2 separate regions of the Homo sapiens genome follow, and region 1 is linked to region 2. Evidence: promoter capture Hi-C in human tissues and cell types (Jung and others, 2019). All regions are on one chromosome and are shown on one strand. Each heading gives the region's core, a stretch centred on a gene start or on the middle of the fragment in contact. The rest is flanking DNA. Distances are from core to core; before and after follow the strand shown.

The links. The method cuts DNA at HindIII sites, captures the fragments that hold promoters and counts their contacts. A contact is called where the count stands out against the background at its distance.
Region 1: a contact is called between a fragment that was not itself captured here and the fragment with the promoter of SLC35G1 in region 2, in 2 of the 25 tissues and cell types used here (mesenchymal stem cells and thymus).

What each region holds. Positions count from the first base shown.
Region 1 is chr10:93,956,555-93,962,681 of GRCh38, reverse strand. It overlaps the pseudogene PIPSL. Among named protein-coding and RNA genes, the nearest start is that of PLCE1, 34 kb to the left of the region's middle. The HindIII fragment of the contact is 3,706 bases long and covers 2,442-6,127 here.
Region 2 is chr10:93,892,415-93,898,184 of GRCh38, reverse strand. SLC35G1 (solute carrier family 35 member G1) reads right to left here and starts at 4,207. Exons shown (of 3, transcript NM_001134658.3): 1 at 3,974-4,207. The coding sequence starts at 4,151. RefSeq lists silencers at 2,269-2,318, 3,804-4,233. The HindIII fragment of the contact is 9,096 bases long and covers 1,806-5,770 here.

The sequences.
Region 1 (6,127 bases), core at 3,045-5,544, 64 kb before region 2:
GGATGCTTCCTGCCCTTGAACATCGGACTCCAAGTTCTTCAGTTTTGGGACTCGGACTGGCTCTCCTTGCTCCTCAGTTTGCAGACAGCCTATTGTGGGGCCTTGTGATTGTGTGAGTTAATACTTAATAAACTTTTATATATATATGTACATATATTTATATATATTGTGTATATATATGTATATATATTATATATATAGTATATATATGTATATATTATATATATAGTATATATGTATATATACTATATATATAGTATATATATGTGTATATATTATATATATAGTATATATATATGTATATATATATATATATCTCCTATTCGTTCTGTCCCTCTAAGAGAACCCTGACTAATACAGCAGGCATTTCATCCATTCAGAAATATTCACTGGGCATCTCCTGTGTGCCAGGTACAGTGTAAGGTGCTGCAGGTAAATAGCATTATAGTGCTTGCTGAATGAACAGTCTCTGATATAGTTTTGATATTCCCCCCCCCAAATATCACATCAAAATATGATCCCCAATGTTGGAGGTGGGGCCTTATCAGACTGGCAACCATCACCACCAGTCAGAGGCTTATTAGACTGGCAATTCTCAAACTCTATACCAGAGAAAAACGGGAACTTTTTAAAAGCACAGATTGTAGGGCCCTCACCCCAGACTTAAATAAAAATTGGGGGGACTGGAGCACATGAGTTTGGATTAAATTACAAGTGCCCCAGATGATTCTGATGTATGGGATCCACTACTCAGAAAAGAAATCCTGGCCGGGTTGGGCGATTAACAGGCGGTGGCTAGGGAGGACGGAGAGGGGGCGTTTGCTCCTCTGGGACTTTTCATGCCTCGTTTTTTTTTTCAGATGTGGCTTGGTCTGGACGCAAGGTCCCAGCAGCCAGCTTAAGCTTACTCTTCTGTGAAAGGGGAAAGTATCCCCTGTGGAAAGCAGTTAAACTTGTGGAGGGGGTGCGAGACGTGAGTTCTCCCCCATGCCAGGCGAATGGTGTGGACTTGAGCTGGTCCAGCAGCCGGCTCGACTTGTCTGAGGGAGCCCTGGAGGGGGCGGGGAGGGGGCCCACAGAACGTGGGTTCTATAAAGAGACATTGGGAAGATTCGATTCCGAGAAGAGGAAGAGCCGGATTGAAAGAGAGCCAGGCCCTTGAGGGGGAGGGGGCTGCCAAGATGGCGTCGGCCTCCTCCGGGCCGTTGTCTTCGGTCGGTTTTTCTCCGTTGATCCCGCGGTCCCTTCCTGTACCTCGTCCTCAGCATCTGGAATCAAGAGTCCCATGGCATCTGAGGTGCCTTATGCCTCTGGCATGCCCATCAAGAAAATAGGCCATAGAAGTGTTGATTCCTCAGGAGGGACAACCTCATCAGCCTTGAAAGGTGCCATCCAGTTAGGCATTACCCACACTGTGGGGAGCCTGAGTACCAAACCAGAGAGTGATGTCCTCATGCAAGATTTCCACATGGTGGAGAGTATCTTCTTTCCCAGTGAAGGGAGCAACCTGACCCCTGCTCATCACTACAATGCCTTTCGTTTCAAGACCTATGCACCTGTTGCCTTCCGCTACTTCTGGGAGCTATTTGGTATCCGGCCCGATGATTACTTGTATTCCCTCTGCAGTGAGCCGCTGATTGAACTCTGTAGCTCTGGAGCTAGTGGTTCCCTGTTCTATGTGTCCAGCGACGATGAGTTCATTGTTAAGACAGTCCGACATAAAGAAGCGGAGTTTCTGCAGAAGCTGCTTCCAGGATACTACATAAACCTCAACCAGAACCCTCGGACTTTGCTGCCTAAATTCTATGGACTGTACTGTGTGCAGACAGGTGGCAAGAACATTCGGATTGTGGTGATGAACAATCTTTTACCAAGATCGGTAAAAATGCATATCAAATATGACCTCAAAGGCTCAACCTACAGGCGGCGGGCTTCCCAGAAAGAGCGAGAGAAGCCTCTTCCCACATTTAAAGACCTAGACTTCTTACAAGACATCCCTGATGGTCTTTTTTTGGATGCTGACGTGCACAACGCTCTCTGTAAGACCCTGCAGCGTGACTGTTTGGTGCTGCAGAGCTTCAAGATAATGGATTATAGCCTCTTGATGTCAATCCATAATATAGATCATGCACAACGAGAGCCCTTAAGCAGCGAAACACAATACTCAGTTGATACTCGAAGACCAGCCCCCCAAAAGGCTCTGTATTCCACAGCCATGGAATCCATCCAGGGAGAGGCTCGACGGGGTGGCACCATGGAGACCGATGACCATATGGGTGGCATCCCTGCCCGGAATAGTAAAGGGGAAAGGCTTCTGCTTTATATTGGCATCATTGACATTCTACAGTCTTACAGGTTTGTTAAGAAGTTGGAGCACTCTTGGAAAGCCCTGATACATGACGGAGACACTGTCTCAGTGCATCGCCCAGGCTTCTATGCTGAATGGTTCCAGCGCTTCATGTGCAACACGGTATTTAAGAAGATTCCCTTGAAGCCTTCTCCTTCCAAAAAACTTCGGTCTGGCTCATCTTTCTCTCAGCGAGCAGGCTCCAGTGGCAACTCCTGCATTACTTACCAGCCATTGGTCTCTGGGGAACACAAGGCACAAGTGACAACAAAGGCGGAAGTGGAGCCAGGTGTTCACCTTGGTTGTCCTGATGTTTTACCTCAGACTCCACCTTTGGAGGAAATCAGTGAGGGCTCACCTACTCCTGACCCCAGTTTCTCACCTCTAGTTGAAGAGACTTTGCAAATGCTAACTACAAGTGTGGACAACAGTGAGTATATGGGGAATGGAGACTTCTTACCCACCCGGCTGCAGGCCCAGCAGGATGCTGTCAACACAGTTTGTCATTCAAAGACCCGCAGCAACCCTGAGAACAACGTGGGCCTTATCACACTGGATAATGACTGTGAAGTGCTGACCACACTCACCCCAGACACTGGCCGTATCCTGTCCAAGCTACATACTGTCCAACCCAAGGGCAAGATCACCTTCTGCATGGGCATCCACGTGGCCCATCTGGCTCTGAAGCACCGACAAGGCAACAATCACAAGATCCGCATCATTGCCTTTGTGGGAAACCCGGTGGAGGACAATGAGAAGAATCTGGTGAAACTGGCTAAATGCCTCAAGAAGGAGAAAGTAAATGTTGACATTATCAATTTTGGGGAAGAGGAGGTGAACACAGAAAAGCTGACAGCCTTTGTAAACACGTTGAATGGCAAAGATGGAACCGGTTCTCATCTGGTGACAGTGCCTCCTGGGCCCAGTTTGGCTGATGCTCTCATCAGTTTTCCGATTTTGGCTGGTGAAGGTGGTGCCATGATGGGTCTTGGTGCCAGTGACTTTGAATTTGGAGTAGATCCCAGTGCTGATCCTGAGCTGGCCTTGGTCCTTCGTGTATTTATGGAAGAGCAGCGGCAGCGGCAGGAGGAGGAGGCCCGGCAGGCAGCTGCAGCTTCTGCTGCTGAGGCCGGGATTGCTACGACTGGGACTGAAGACTCAGACGATGCCCTGCTGAAGATGACCATCAGCCAGCAAGAGTTTGGCCACACTGGGCTTCCTGACCTAAGCAGTATGACTGAGGAAGAGAAGATTGTTTGTGCCATGCAGATGTCCCTGCAGGGAGCAGAGTTTGGCCTGGCAGAATCAGCAGACATTGATGCCAGCTCAGCCATGGACACATCTGAGCCAGCCAAGGAGGAGGATGATTACGACGTGATGCAAGACCCTGAGTTCCTTCAGAGTGTCCTAGAGAACCTCCCAGGTGTGGATCCCAACAATGAAGCCATTCGAAATGCTGTGGGCTCCCTGGCCTCCCAGGCCACCAAGGACAGCAAGAAGGACAAGAAGGAGGAAGACAAGAAGTGAGACTGGAGGGAAAGGGTAGCTGAGCCTGCTCAGGGGACTGCATGGGAAGCACGGAATATAGGGTTAGATGTGTGTTATCTGTAATCATTATAGCCTAAATAAAGCTTGGCAAGATTTTTTCCTTCTTTGCTTCAAAAAAAAAAGAAAGAAAGAAAGAAAGAAAGAAAGAAAGAAAGAAAGAAAGAAAGAAAGAAAGAAAGAAAAGAAAAGAAAAGAAAAGAAATCCTGATGCCTAAATCTGACCCCTTGAAATGCTGATGAGCTTCATCTGAGCTGTGTGATCTCTCATGTGCAGCTAAGGTTGAGAACCACTAACATAAAATAATTCACATTAAAATCACCAGGAAGCTTTAATAACATTTCAAATACTTGGACCCAACCCCTAAAGATTCTAATTTAATTGGCCTGGGACTCAGGTACTGATATTTTTCAAAAGCTCACAAGGTAATTCTGAAATTCAGCAAAAGTTGAGAACCACTATTCAGACTAAGTGACTTGTCCAATGTCTCTGGGTGCATCAGACTTTACGGCCTTCCTTACACAGGGGTTGTGAATGAAATATGGCTATGGAAAGCAATTGTTGAGTAATATGTTATAAAGTATGGTGGTGATGATGATGATGACAATGATGACAATATTTCTTGAGTGCGTCCTATGCACCAGGCACTATGCTAAGCATTTTATGAGCTTAATCTTATTGAATCTTCAACATTAGCCTGCTGGTATTATTTTCCCTTTTCCTTGATTATAATATGTCATCAGTTGAGGATGACAATTTAATAACAGTTATTAGAGGCTGTTGCTTGTTAATAGGAAAATATTTATTCAGTCCTCCAGAGACAAAGATTTGCTTTGATCAGAATAAATGTAAATTTTGATTTATTTAACATGAAATGCAAATAAACATGTGTGCTGCTATCAATGCAAATCACTCATCCCATGTGATATCAAATAAGCAGATACCTTCTATGTAGCCCTCCAAGTTCACCTACATTCACAAATGTTACTTATATCTCATACTGGGGTATCCATACTGGGCCTGGAAGCTGGCAAGTTTATTTAGACACATTCCATTTCAGGAATAATAAAATGCAGGGAAAATGTGTATCTTTGAGTCACAGAATCATGGTATTATTCTTATTTTCAGGTGAGACTTTAAAAGATTAAGTGACTTGCCTATAGTCCCAGGGTTCATTCTACAGCCAAGCCAGAAATAACAACCCAGTGCCCCTGATGCTGGAATTCTCCAGAAGCTCCTCTACTGACATAGTTTCCACTGACAAACTTTCCTTGACAAGAATAAAGTAGTCTGTCAGAACAAAATTTTGCCAGCTCTGTCTACTGCCAGCACTTGGAAATAGGAGTCCCATGGGGTTTGCAAACAAATGAAAGCAGTGGTGGGCTTGCAAGACCTCACCAGTCCTTAGAGTTCAGTTGATATGTCTCTCAATACAATGCAGGAACTAATTTTAAAGCATTTTGAAACAAGCACAATAACTGAAAATTCTGAGTTCAACAAGAAACAAATGCATTTAATCTTTGAAGAAAAATCAAGTCAATTAAGAAATGAAAATAGGTTGAGACTAGACGAATAAGAATGGAAATGATCGATTGGAGAAGTTTTCAGCCTTGAACAGGCCATTACCAAGTGGTCAGTATGACCACATTTATCTGATATTATTTGGTCCTTTTCTTTCTTTTAAAAGTACTATTTAGTTATAAGAATCTTAAATGCTGGCTGGTGCAGTGGCTCATGCCTGTAATCTCAGCACTTAGGGAGACTGAGGCTGGAGGATCGCTTGAGCTCAGGAGTTTGAAACCAACCTGGGCAACATGGTGAGACCTTATCTCTACCAAAAGTAAAAAAAAATAGTTGGACATCGTGGCATGAGCCTGTAGTCCCAGCTACTTGGGAGGCTGAGGTGGGAGGATCACTTGAGCCTGGCAGATGGAGGCTGTGGTGAACTGTGATCTTGCCAAGACCGTGTCTCAAAAAAAAGAAAGAAAGAAAGAAAGAAAGAAAGAAAGAAAGAAAGAAAGAAAGAAAGAAAGAAAGAAAGAAAGAAAAGAAAAAAGAAAATTAAACACCACTTTTTAAAAAAAAGCAACAAAGAAAATTTGGACATTAAGAGAATAAACATTCCCATTAATCCCATCTCCACTCTCCTAAGAGATCATCAGTTTAGTGCCTGCTTTTCCAAAAATATATGTCAAAAATGATTTCTCTTTCTTAAAGAGAAAGTATATATCTAT
Region 2 (5,770 bases), core at 2,958-5,457:
TTGGCTTTATGAAGAAAGTGTTCTTTTCTGGAAAATGGGTTATAATTGGGTTATACAGTTATCTGTTGATTATTTGACTTCCTCCCACAAGTCTGTGAGCTCTTCCAGGGCTGGGATCTTGCTGTCTTGTACATGCCTGGCACATGGAAGACACTGGATAAATATTCAGTGAATGAAAGATGAGAGAACTTCAGGGAAAGACTCAAGAGTCTAACACTATCGGCAACAGCATAATCTGGGAAGGTTCTCCATTTTGTTATTTTGAACTGTTAATCAAATCTATATTTAACTTTTCATGCTTTCACGACTTATCTTCCCATTCAGAGCACAAACTCCTCAAGGGGAGGGTGTGGGTTATCTAGCCCTTTGGATCCCAAGTGCTTTGTACAGAACTGCCATCTAATCCCTACTCTTGGCTCGATCTGAACGAGGAAACCAGTGCTTTCTCCAGGGCATCAAGTATTCAGTCATTAATGACAATCTGTGTGAGCTTTAAACTTGTTTAGCCACTTACTATGTCTTAGTTTCCTACACAGGAGTAGAACCTGCTTTCAGTCTTACTCCTCTGTCATTCAGAGAGCAAAAGCAGCAGGGTGGGCAGAGAATGCCCTAAAACAAAGGTCACACACTGCGGGATATATTCTTTTTTGAAATTAACACAAAAACAGGGTTGAGGGTAAGAAGGAAACACAAGTGGCCCTCATTGATTAAGAGCACAGTGGAACTGAAGGGTGAGTGGATATGAGCAACTTGTAGGAAAACTCGTATTATCATTCCAATCTAGGACTTTATAATGTGATAGCTATAAAACAGTATTGTGTAATGTTTTTTAAAATGCCCTTCTCTGATAAATGTAAACACCAGGTAACACATTTACACATCCTCAGGTTAGTGAGATGACTTTGCAAACTGGGACCAAAGTATGCTGATGCACAGGCTTTCTGGGGCATTCTACAGCCTGGCCTTGTGGTCAAAGGCACCCTTCTCTACCTCTTCCTGTTCTAGGTGCACAGCTGAAGATACTGCTTTGGAACTAGCAGTAGTCCTTCCCTTAAGATGCCAGAATCCTCATTCTGTTCTGTATCCATGTGCTTGTATACTGCAGAAATAAACTGCACACACGCAGCCCACGAGAAGGAAGCTTTAGAAGACTTCCAAGTGAAGCACCACAAAATACATGCCTTGGCTGTGGTCAGCCTTAGGGTCTGGCCTCTGAAATTTCAGAATTCAGTTCCAAATAAAACAGTTTTTCTTAAAAGAAACTCAACCCCTACATAGAAACTCCACCCTCAAACAGAACAGACCGAGAAGATCAAGGACAGAAAACATCTCCCTGCTCTGTTTCAAGTATCTTCTCCAACATAAACTTGCTAATTTTTCCCCAGGAATATTTTAACTTAACATTAAATATTTTAACTCTTTAAAAATGTAATTGCACCCCCTTGGCCCTAGTGACCTTTCCCCTTAAAACACATACACATGTATTTTCTTGCCTATAAACACTTAAGGCTCATGCTTTCCAACTGGGAAGGGACAGACATTAGAAGGCCTCGCTGCATTTGATGATTTGTTAACGAGGGTGAGGACTGGCTCCACTCAGACAAACCTCAGTTTCTTACTAAATCATTTCAATCCTGTCAATGGAGATGAGCATGACTAGCATAACTGAAAGAGGCATTTGTTTAGGTTCCATGTTCATATCTCACTGCAAGCATATCTAATAATTTGGTAACTCAAATTATTCAAATTAGGTAAGTGGCCATGGTGTAATTTCCTCACTTAGAAGAAAACTGAAAAATTACTCAGCTTCTCTATCCTCTGCTTTCAGCTGGTGATTCGCAATCCTGGTTGGGAATTAGAATCACCTGAGTAACACTTAAAACTTTAATTCCTGGGTGCAGTGGCTCATGCCTGTAATCCCAGCACCTTGGGAGGACAAGGTGGGAGGATCTCTTGAGCTCAAAAGTTTGAGACCACCCTGGGCAACACGGGGAAACCCCCTCATCAATGCAAAAAATATTTTTAAATTAGTCGGGTGTGGTGGTGTGTGCCTGTGGTCCCAGCTACTCAGGAGACTTAGATGAAAGGATCGAGTAAGCCCAGGAGGTTGAGGTCGCCGTGAGCTGTGATCACGCCAATGCACCACAGCCTTGGTGACAGAGTAAGACCCTATCTCCAAAAAAAAAAAAAATTAATTCTCAAGCCCCATCTCAGACCCACCGAAATAGAATCTCTGTAACTCTAAAAGGCTCCACTAGTTTGAGAACCACTGCTACACTCGATCACTAACTCCCTCCAGAGGATGTGAGGCACAGGCCTAAGAAACTACTTCTCCTTGCTTCAGTGTAAGACCCACACTGTCCCTGAAGAAAGTAAGGAGATGTCTTGGGACAGCTGTATGTGTCTGTTAAGGTCATCCAAGAATGTAAGACATATGGGTAACAGTTCCAACCAGAACTTGAAAAAAGCTTTGTTGAGATAAGCAGTTAGAACAAGAGGTGTCACAAAGTTCAATGACAACAGTAAAGTGTTTTTATGTCAATTTTCTTTCCAAAATATTATCTTGTCACCTTACAATAACTAAGTCTTACTGGTAGAAACTTTCTTTGAAGTTAAACACCCACAAGATTCTTAGATACACTCACGTAAGTTTCTCATCTTGCCATGAGCTGCCTGGGAGTAGAGAATTCCTCTTCCATTCACAAAAAGGGGAAACTTTAAGAGTTTGCATGGACTGATTCGGCATGCCACCAGAAGGACATTCACCCAGAGGGTGATAGGTGAGAAACTGACCTTTTCAAAGGCTGCTTATCTGTTCAATTCAGCCTGGCATAACCCCTGTTCTAGAGGCACCAGCCCATTTATAAATGATCACAAGTCTGATCATTTCGGTTTGCCTTTAGGACAGAAATGGAGCAAGAATAGTCTTCCTAGAGTCTGTCTCTCTAACTTGGGGAAAGTGCACAAAGGGAGGAGGGGAAAGCGCAGTGAGAGGAGAGGAACAGAAATCCAGGGTCACACTTAGGGGAGGTGACCCAGAGGACAAGGTGGTGCAGGCCGTGTAACTGTCCTAAAAAGAGATCTGCCTATTCCCTTCTTCTTGCAGGAAGCTGCTCCTGGTAGATGGTCGACTTCTAAGAGGAATGTGCTTGAAGCAGCACTTGTGGCCAGTGGAAAGGGCCCTAGGCCGGTATATGGCAAGCTGGGATCCTAACCCTGGTGCTCCCTGGACATGCGCCCCATCTCACCCCCACGTTCCACATCTTGGAGGAGACAAAGCAAACGAAAACCCAAAAGCCCTCACCTTCCTGGGCCTCACTTTGCTCATGTGTCGAAGGAGGGGGACTGAACATAAAGTGTTCTTCACGAGGGGTCCCTGACTTTGGGGACGGGGCTGTGAGCTTCTTAACAAGATATGCCTTGTTCTGCATCGTTTGCTAAAAAGTCCTTGTATCCCTAAAGGTTAAAAACTAGCGGTCCCACTTATCTCTGCCTTTCCAAGATTCTAAAACTCTAGGACGAACATTTTTTCTAGACTCGATGCTTTTCAGCTTCCTTTTCGGAGAGAACCCTTAACCACCGGGATCACTTTTCAGGGTCAGCTTCCTCGCAACGTCGCCCCACTGCAGGATGGCCTCTCTCGCTGACCCCCCACCTACGACCTAGGGGAGGGTACGCCAAACTGCAGTCTGACTCCACAGCCCTGCCCCGACACTAATTACAGGAGCAGCCTCGGAATCCCAAAAGGACTGCTAACAATCGGAAAGTTTCTTCCGTCTTAGCGCCGGCTGGGGCGCCGGGAATTCCGCTTTGCAGCCCCCCAGCTGACAGCTCGAGGGGTTTCCCGAGCCCCGGGCAGGGTGGGGACGGAGGCGCGGCGGGCACTGTGCCCGGGTTGCGGGGACCCCAACCCGCCGGCGCCCGCTCGGGACCCCCGAGCGAGACCAGAGCCCGATCCACACCGCGCACTCACCCGGCTCGGTGCGGGAGCAACACGGCGAGGAAAGGCAGAGCCAGCACCTACCGCGGTCTGGCGCCCCAGCTGCCTCGGCGGCCGCCGGCTCCTCAGTGGCGCCCGGGGGTGCATCGTCCGTTAGCGGCAGCCCGGGCTCCTGGAGCTCCGCGACCCCGGTGCTGTCCTGAGGCCGCATCTCGCGGCACGCGCTCTACCAGCGGCCGGTGCCGTCTGGCGCCAGCAGCAGCGCCTGGGCTGCCGCTCTTCCGGCGGGCGATGGCGCCCATGCGCATGCGCGCCCGGCCCACCCGCACCCTCCCCCAAGGAGACCGCGCGCGTCCTCCGCTGGCCTCTTAACCTGGGGAGACCCGCTGCCTCCCTGGTCGGGCTGTGGTGCCCACAGCTGGCTCTAAGGCGTCCAACCCTCTGCTGCGTTCAGGCTACATGGCCCAGCTGCTTGGAGCCATCCTTGGCAAGTCACACTGAACCTGTCTGTCATGGCACAGACAAGGAGGGGCGCTGGGTTCCCAAGCCCTGGCGCCCGGGGGTCCTGTGGCCTCCTTTTCAGGAGGCTCAAAGAGTGGGCGTTTTTTCATTGATGTAACCACGCATTCAGCACCTCTGTGATACCCCGAAGATTTTACAAAGCACCATGCTTGTCTTTAAATGGTCTAGGGTTTTTATGTTTTGTTTTGTTTTGTTTTGTTTTGTTTTGTTTCCCGTGTTGTCCCTTTGCTGCTTACCAAGGAGGGTAGAATTTTGCTGTTTTGGGAAATATTTTTAAGAAAGAATTAGTGTGTAATTATAGGAAAATATATCTATAAGACTGACCAGAACCCATTTATATGTTCTTTGCATTCTTTGCAAGAGTAGGCATGCATTATTGATCTTTGGTTTTCTTTTCTTAAATGGAAATATCCTAATTTGGCCAGATGTAAGATTCAAGTAATCTGATGTAATTAGACCTGGTAAAATATATTCTTTGGCCCAGGATTCACTAACAGCCTCTTTTTGTTTAGCTAATAATTCTTCTTCCATCTCTTTGCTTGCTTTATATGTGGAAGAACAGTCTCTGTGCAAGGATGAACGTATCTAAACTTCTAAGTCCAGTGCCAAGCAGATCACCAAAGGAGAGTGAAGTTTGCCTTTACTCAGACATTTGCACATAGTGATCCACAGCTGAAACAGTTTTAGACTTGAAGTCAGGAATCCTAGGTTCTGGCCCTGAGTGTGTGACCTCAGTCACCACTGTACCCCTCGAAGCCTTGATTACCTCCTTTATTTAATAGCGATCAAGTATTTCCCTTCCTGCTTCGCAGAGTAGTTATGTAAATAAAATGCAATGATGTGGGCAAAAGCATAATATCACCTGGAAAACACTATGTTAGAAAATCAAAGTGTGTTTTAAACTAGGGTCAGCATATAATTTATCCTCCAAACTGGACCTTTTTTTTTTTAAGAGTAAAAGGAGGAGCTCTTTTAAAAGTTACACAAGGGAATAGGCATAAACTGGGACTGTCCTAGGCAAACTGAGACAAATGGTCACCTGAATTCTAACTTGATTAACACATACTTTTGCCTTGTCTTAAAAGAGAATTTAAGGCTGGGCACGGTGGCTCAGCCTACCATCCTAGCACTTCGGGAGGCTGAGGTGGGAGGATTGCTTGAGCTTAGGAGTTTGAGACCAGCCTGGGCAACATAGACCTTGTCTCTATAAAAAAAATAATAATACTTTTAAAAGAATTTAAGGCTACTTACAAAAATATCTGTAACAGGTTTTGTTGTCGTTGTTTTAGATAGGGAAATTTCAGGGAA